Linked DNA regions of Homo sapiens: all the other regions are linked to region 3. Evidence: promoter capture Hi-C in 16 types of primary human blood cells and fetal thymus (Javierre and others, 2016). All regions are on one chromosome and are shown on one strand. Each heading gives the region's core, a stretch centred on a gene start or on the middle of the fragment in contact. The rest is flanking DNA. Distances are from core to core; before and after follow the strand shown. Region 1 has its middle 92 kb from the start of PLSCR2. Region 2 has its middle 80 kb from the start of PLSCR4. Region 3 holds the start of PLSCR1 (phospholipid scramblase 1).

What was found. Contacts are between HindIII fragments. The CHiCAGO score rates a contact against its expected background, and 5 or more counts as called.
Region 1: a contact is called between a fragment that was not itself captured here and the fragment with the promoter of PLSCR1 in region 3, in 2 of 17 cell types (total B cells and total CD8 T cells). The highest score is 5.1, in total B cells.
Region 2: a fragment that was not itself captured here is called in contact with the fragment with the promoter of PLSCR1 in region 3 in 1 of 17 cell types (endothelial precursors); the score reaches 5.6 in endothelial precursors.

The regions. Positions count from the first base shown.
Region 1 is chr3:146,376,153-146,379,010 of GRCh38, forward strand. No RefSeq gene overlaps it. Among named protein-coding and RNA genes, the nearest start is that of PLSCR2, 92 kb to the right of the region's middle. The HindIII fragment of the contact is 3,693 bases long and covers 1-2,858 here.
Region 2 is chr3:146,329,787-146,332,594 of GRCh38, forward strand. No RefSeq gene overlaps it. Among named protein-coding and RNA genes, the nearest start is that of PLSCR4, 80 kb to the left of the region's middle. The HindIII fragment of the contact is 2,829 bases long and covers 69-2,808 here.
Region 3 is chr3:146,543,209-146,545,908 of GRCh38, forward strand. PLSCR1 (phospholipid scramblase 1) reads right to left here and starts at 1,399. Exons shown (of 9, transcript NM_021105.3): 1 at 1,259-1,399. RefSeq lists an enhancer at 1,249-1,728. The HindIII fragment of the contact is 8,607 bases long and covers 1-2,700 here.

The sequences.
Region 1 (2,858 bases), core at 183-2,682, 170 kb before region 3:
GTCCATTTGATTAGCTTTCAAAGTGTAGCTTCTCAATGCTTTAGACTCACAAATACATGACAAGTGTTAAAAAGGTTTGCTAATCTATTTTATAGTCTTCTCTTGTTCAACCCACAATGTAATTTTTTCAATCATAATTATACAGTGGTGTGTTGTGAATTTGAAGAACAAAGATTCAAAATATTTTGCATTTTAGAAATTGTCTGTAGGTTATAGAAATAAAGAGTAAAAATAATAGAATATTTTAAGATGTTTGATTATTTCCAGTGAAGATGTAGAATTTGATTCTATTTTTAAATTTTTTTTTAGAATTACCATGTGTTACATGTGAGTTTATTGCTATCTGAATTGTTACAAAGAAAGAATCTCTGTCCATTTTCTGTTTATTAAATTTAGAATGTTAAATGTTTTTCTTAGTATCCCTATCCCATCAATTTTTTTTTCATTCATAATGTGTATTACTTTGGGTTCTCCAGAGAAACAAAACGAATAGCATAAGTAGATAGATAGCTATAGAAAGATAGCTATACAAATATATCTACCTTTAGTTTAGTCTATCTTTAGTTTATCTTTAGTCTCTCAGTTTCTAAGTTTTCCATATGCTTAGGAAATCCTCAGAATTAGGGCACATGGTGAGACTTATAGTTATTGTTTAACATTTTTCTGCAGCAAGGAAAAAGAAAGGAGAAATTTGGGGTTCTGAGAATAGACAAATAAAGGTGGGTACTCAAGGAGGTGTGGAATCCAGGTGGCAGCTGTTTCTTCTCCATTCAGATTATCTTGGTTACTTGAACATACAAATGACAAAACTGGCACTTTGCCACTGAAAGTTTAATTTATCTTGAATGTTAGCATAATTTTAGAATTTATTATACTACAAGAAAAGAAAAAGCATGCGACGTGTTTTGTTTTCTTTTCCTATGACCTTCAGGCGGTCAACTACTTTATTATGTAAACCTATGCTAAACTATCCAATTGCCTCCCACTGCCTGGTAATTTTTGTAAATTTAGAAATAATTATATATTTTCAGAAAAGTTGCAAGAATAGTACAAAAAATTTTCACACAATTGTCACCTATATTCCCCTATTTTTTCACATTTGCTTTATTACTCCCTTTAATATATACATATATACATATGAAATAATAATTTTAAATTGCAAACATGGTATTGCTGTACTCCTAAATACTTCAGTGTGCATTATCTCCATAAGGAACATTCCCTTAATATTACCACAATTAACATAACAGGACATTAACATTGATACAATATTTTACACAATCAATTGCTCCTTTCTGATTCCTTGGTTTATAATTTCCTTTTAAACATTAGGACACACATACTATGAGGCAATTTTTTTTGTTGTTTTCGCTTTAATAAGCACCAAATGTTATTTTGATTAGATTAAAATAGATCTATGTCATGGTTTTTATTCTTACATAATACTACACTATGAATTCACCAAAATTGGCCAATATGATCTTCAAAATTTTGTGGAGAAAATGTCCAAGAATATGCAAGCAAAATAGTAGAATATAATTAAAATTATAGTTTTTCTGCAACAGAGTCATATGAGATAGCCCATCTTCATTGGTAAACATTTTTATGAGTGCCATTAATCTCTACCTCTCTTGTAAATCCACTCATTACACTGTATTGTTACTACACATTTATGCATCTTCAAATCCCACTAGACTGTTAGACTGCAAAATTAGTACAGGCAGAAACTGTGCCTCCTTCGTTAACTAATGCATTGTGGATACTGAATCAACTGGTTGAATGAATAAGTGAATAGTAAGTATGACATAGAAGCGAATCTAGCTGCTACCTTGTTATGAAATCAAAGGCCATCAGGAGTAATCCTCCTTACTCTCCTGTTTGACCTACCCAAACTGTTATCAACATGTATGTCTATACTAACTTTTCTTCTAATTGCAGAAGAGTAGGTGTGCCCTCCTCATGTCTCCTGCTTCTTATTCCATCCTTAGGTTCCAGGCTCTTGCTCTGTTGGTCATACATAGTATTCCTCTCCTATGTCTTCAACTATTTTTTCTTTTTTTTTTTTGTTTTTTTCTTGCCCATATCAAAAATGTAGACTTTGCTCTCCCATCAAATAAAGCCATCTCTTTTTTCTACTCCCTGTAGCCACCATCTAGTCTCTTACTTCCCCTTTTCCTGCTGAGCTTCCTAAAAGCATAGCTTGTTATATATTTCTGTTATCTCCCATTTATTTCTCAACTACCCTTGATCTAGATTCATTTCTTAATACTTCTAAAGGTAGTTCTGGCTTAAACAATGGCATGTGTATTTTCATATTTTGTGGACACGATTCCATCTTGATTGACCCTCTGCTCCCTGACATCATTCTCTCTGGTTTCTATACTTTGGAATTTAGTTGGATTTAATGTTTCTTGAATGGACAAATCCATTTCCTGCATATATTTTACTAGAATTGAGTAGTCACCTAGAGAATGCCATGTAGATGACAGCAGAACAGGCCAAGACATATTGCTTGTTCCATTTTTCTTCATTTCATCTTGATATGGTTTGGCTTTGGCTCTGTGTTCCCACCCAAATCTCATCCCGAATCCCCATGTGTTGAAGGAGGGACCTGGTGGGAGGTGACTGGATCACAGGAGCTTTTTCCTTAACACTGTTCTCATGACAGTGAGTGAGTTCTCACGAGATCTGATGGTTAAAAGTGTGGCACTTCCCCTAATTCTCTCTCTCTCTCCTGCTGCTATGTAATATGTGCCTTGCTTCCCCTTTGCCTTCTGCCATGATTGTTTCACCCTCATGGGGGGCCTCCCCTGCCATGAGGAGCTGTGAGTTAAACTTCTTTTTTTTTTAATAAATTA
Region 2 (2,808 bases), core at 233-2,732, 210 kb before region 3:
TAAAAGTAACCAGAAAAAAACTTTAAAACTCTATTAGGTTATTCAACTTTAAATAAATTGCTCAGTTAAGCTTATCAACTCCTGGACATATTTTTTAAAACAATGGTTTTCTCGTGTATCCAGCGGGAATAAGGAAAGAATCAAGGAAAGGTATGTGCCAATTATCTGTTAAAGTACCCACTAGACAATTAACATCTAATGGGACAGAACTTTACCATATCTCCAAACCTAGTTACATAGAAGGGTCAGAAATATTCTGTGTATTCCAGGTTTCATGTGGAATCAGTGAAATTAGAGATATTATGGGAGAAGAAGAGACTTAAGGGAACAAGCAATACCTCTACCAAAATTACTCTCCATTGCTGATATTTCCATGTAGAGATACTGGCATTAGAGAAGACTTCTGATCTTTATCTGTTCCCTCATTTACTTGCCTCAGGGATCAGGGATAAATGATTGTTCTTGGGGAGTTTGAGCAAAGCAACTGGGTATGAGAAGTTCAGCTGTGTTTCTCTTTGGAGAGACAGCCTGTTAACAGACAGCGCGAATTCCTAGGTTTTTCAGGGAGTGAGGTTTATGGTGGTAGGACTCTAGAATAAAGGGCTGTGTTTTTTTCCAGCTCTGCCTGAGACAGTGAGAGTAATTCTGATTCAGCACCCTTTTGCAAATTTATTATTGCTAGAGAATGAAGCCTTGTCCTCTAAACAGCTTTATCAGGTTAATGATGAAGTCAGTTTTACTCCTTTGCCTATCTCTCAAGTGATTTCATTCACAGGCAAAGAACAGTGATAGTATACAATGATCTCTCAAAAGGCCAACAATATTAGCTTGCTGTCAGTTAAGAAAACAGCACCACATTTCTCTGATTTCCATATCTAGGAAGGTCCTATGGCCATATCTCAAACAAGTGGCAAAAATTACAGGTAGACAGGAATACACAAAACCGGACAGAACAGAGAGAGCTATACAGACACAGAAAACAAACAGAAATATTGAAATGTTATAATATATAGGAAACTAAGAATAAACAATTCAAGGATATAGGAAATATAGTAGTAGTCCCCAGAATAATTTTTATAACTGACTGTGAATCTGCCAGAACTATGAATAAAGTATTCCCACATCTCCAGACATATTGTCTATTCCATGTTATCTGTCAGACTAACAGGCAGGCTAGGTCACATCTGGACAAAGTAGTATTTGGCTGCCCATTAGCTATAGTTCTTTCCCTTCATCAAGGTAATTGTTTGAGTCTGTCTATGATCATCTGATATTCTTTGTATGACCAACAATTAAATTTTTCAATGCAAGTGAATCTGTCAAACAACAAGTATCTTTCACAAAAGAATCTAAAAATATATCTTAATAAATGAAATTAAACTCAGATGTGAATGGTGGCTGTGAAAAATATGACTGTATCAATAAATGAATGGATGAGTAAATTGAAATACCTCATAGATGACAGGTATTTTAAATGCTTTTGTTTTTGTAACATAGTAATTTAGTTTTTCCTTCATAGGTAGAAGATTGCCGTGAGATCAGTCGGTATTGTTGAGATGTGCTATGTTAGCATTTGCTTACGATTAATTTACAACAGTAGATAAATTTGAAACAAATATCTAAAAATTTTCTATTAACCATTGTTATAAAAGATTGCACATTAAGGCTGGGCTCAGTGGCTCACGCCTGTAATACTAACAATTTGGGACGCCAAGGCAGGCGGATTGCCTGAGCTCAGGAGTTTGAAACCAGCCTTGGCAACAAGGTGAAATCCCGTCTCTACTAAAGTACAAAAAATTAGCTGGCTGTGGCAGCATGCACCTGTAGTCCCAGCTACTCGGGAGGCTGAGGCAGGAGAATTGCTTGAACCTGGGAGGCGGAAGTTGCAGTGAGCCAAGATCGTGCCCCCGCACACAAGCCTGGGCAACAGAGCGAGATCCATCTCAAAAAAAAAAAAAAAAAAAAAGTCTGTTAAATTTTTTGTGTGATTGCAAGAATACTGGGGGATAAAAGGAATCTGTAATTTGCAGTCCTGTTTCAACTATTTGTGCTCAGTATAACGTTGGACACATGACCTTGGCCTGTTTTCTCATTTGTAGATTAGAATGTAATGCAGGTAGTCCTCAATATTCCTTCTAACTCTAAAATATTTTGGTACTATTCATTAAAATTTATAGATTAGTAGTAGCATAATTTGGCTAAGGAAATAGTATATTTCAGTAGAGAAAGCAATGAACTACTGCTGTCCCATTTTGTAGACTTATATTATTTAGTTTTATGTCAGGGAGGGGGGAAAAAGAATAATTCACCAAATTAAATGAATAATATTTATTATTAAATAAATAAATAATAAATTATGTAATTATGATTATAAATATAAGTAATAAATACATAAATTAATAAATAAATATAATTATTAAATACAATTTAATTATTAATTAAATATTTAATTCCAGTAGCAACAATTTCACAAATCTAAATAAATAATATTTTGTCTTTCTAATTGATTCTTTCTGGTGTTTCTCATCTGCCCATCCTTGCATAAGCAAGAGTTTCTAACATATCTTTTAAATCTGTTTTTCCTAGATTTTAACAAAAACAGAACAAATAATAGTTACTGTTAGCTAAGACAACTGAGAAAACATGTTTTTGAAACTTTCAAGAAAATCAGTTTCAGTAATTTCTCCAAGATAAATTTTTCTGTGCCTGGATTGCAAAACAGTTGCTAGTATAATAATTTAATGATTGGTTACCTGTATTAGTATTAGTCAGGTTTCCCTAGAGGAACAGAACTAACAGGATATATAA
Region 3 (2,700 bases), core at 149-2,648:
TGAAGATGGAGAAGTACATAAGGGTCTGCTCACACACATCTGATGTCTCTCCACCTGTATGTACTCTAAGCTCCTTTACAGATCTAAAGGCAGTTTGATCTATAAACCAGCTATTTTACATGCCACTTTTCTATCCAATTGCATAAATCCACTCTTTCCCTTTATATGTCTTTTTCATTTCCCCGCATTTTCTCATTGTTCAAAGCCCTACTATTGTTGTAAACAGGGTGGCATTAAGACAAAGGTTTGCTCTTAGAAAAAGTTCAAGAAGGGAGCCCCCAAACTGTCTGACACGTTTAAGTGTCACTTGTAGTAACCATGTATCTCAATGTGATAAGCCAGAAAAAACAACGACTGCCTGTTCCTGGAACTGGGAAGTGGCCATGCCAAGACTTCCAGGAATAACAGTGCATGAATGAAACCACCTGGGAACCAGAGAATCAGCTTGGAGAAGCAGGAACTTTGTCAAATATTTAAAATAATAAGAGCTAACTTTCACTGAGTACTTTCTGTAGCGCCAGGCACTGCTCTAAGAATTTTACATTAATACTCTGTAGCTCATTTAATAGTTACACAATTTCAGAGATGAGGCAATGGAAAGAACATATATAAGAAGAAAGTGGCTGACAGTCCACAGACGTGAAGCAGTAGAGGCCGAATTTAAAGTCGGGGAGCCTGACTGGAGCTAATGGTCTTAGGAACCGTGCTAGATACCGCCACTATCTTTCCTAAGCTGGTATTGTAGAGGGCCTAGCATAGATGTGGGCTCCGGCGGACTTCATTGAATACTTACTGATAAATGACAGCTTGCAGGCTGTATTAACCATTCCTTCTAATAGCCCCACTACGCTGGCACATGCTCCTGAGCCCAGACTCTACCCAGGATTCAGGGCCGCTCTCTACCTGTAAAGCAGTGTAGCTAAGGGGAAGCTGAGCCCCGCAAGGCGTTTTCAGGCAGGGCACCCCTTGTCATTCGAATGGTTCTGGGGTGAGCCCGGGTGCCGCTGGGCCGCCTGGGGCCCCTTGCCGTGTACCTGCTCCACTTCCAGGGTCCCTTTCAGAGGCCTCTTGCATTTCTGGCCCCAACCTTCACCCCACATCCTCCACCCCCAGAGCAGCAAACACAACCTGCGGGCCCTCGCGCCGGTTCCCCACAAGTTGCCCTCCACACCTGACCCCGGCCCTGGCCCCAGCGCAGGCTCCGCGCAGTTCCCGCGCCCAAGTCCCCAGGAGGCGGCAGAGAAAGCCGCCCGCGCACCTCTGGCTGCCGCTGTTTCCGCTCCCGAGCGAGACAAGGTCCAGAGAGCCGGGGCCAGGCGATGGCTTCCTCTTCTGCGCCTCTAGACTGCCGGGCACAGCTGCTGCGCAACCTTCTCAGAAGTCAGCCGGAAAAGGGTCTGGGAGTAACCTTTGCGCCAACACCCGCGGCTCCTGGTTTCGTTTCCTGAATCTTACGTACACAACACGGTTTCCTTTTCCCGGTTCCCGCGCTGGCGCTCGGGGACCCACGAGACTACTGGAGGGTGAAGGAGCTGGAGGAGGGACTGCGCCCACCCCCTGGTGTGAGGCCCCTCCCCTACCCCCGACTTGCTTTCTTGCTCATTGGAGAGACTCCAGAGACGTTTGTCCGGTGGTTAAGGAGAGGAACTGGGACTCCGACACTAACTGGAACTGGAAAGTCATCAGCTGGGGAGTGGCCTCCCCCGGGAACTTTCTTTACTCTGGCTTTGACCTCCATCCCTCGGAAGCCCGTGGCTTTTCAAGGCGAGGGAGTAGAGGCAGCTTAAGACTACAAATGAGGAGGGGCCAAAATTGTTTTTCTTTATGGTGCCTTTTCTTTCTTGCTGTCTTGCTCTTTCTTTCCTTCTATTAAATTATGTGATATTACTTTTTAATTTTTAAGCAGTTATTTGAATGTTTTCGAGCTCACTTTATTTTTTTATAAATATTGTTCCTTTTTAAACTAAAATAGTTTTTATTCTGTGTATTTAAGTTATTTGTATGACATATCCATCAACTCCTATAATTACACATTTCCCCCCTTGGGGCAAGAGCAGCTATAATCTACTTATTTAGCATAAATCCTGAATACCACTATCATTAACTATAGCCCTCATGTTGTACATTAGGTCTTCCCATTTGTTCATCCTACGTGTTTGTAACTTTGTATACTTTTACCTAAATTTCCCCATTTCTCCTGACCCCACTCCAACCTGGATGACCCTGGATAAACCAGTGGTCCCCAACCTTTTTGGCACCAGGGACCAGTTTCACGGAAGAGGATTTTTCCATGGACCAGGGCCGGGTGGCAGACGGTTTCAGGATGATTCAAGCACATTACGTGTATTGCGCACTTTACTTCTATTATTATTACATTGTAATATATAATAAAATAATTATACAACTCACCATAATGTGGAATCAGTGGGAGCCCTGACCTTGTTTTCCTGCAATTAGAAGGTCCCATCTGGGAACGGTGGGAGACAGTGACACCAGAAGTGTGTTGCTTATGTCCAGTCTACTCCGTAATCTTGTTTTGGTTGCTGTCACTGCAGAAAATCCTGCTTCACAAAGATAGCATGTTGGAAATGGAAGCAGACTCTTCAGTGCTTTTGTGGCAATCTCAGGATATCCCACCTTGAGTTTAATCCAGAACATGGGATTTGAAGCTGTCTCAAACATACTTTTAAGGCCACCATC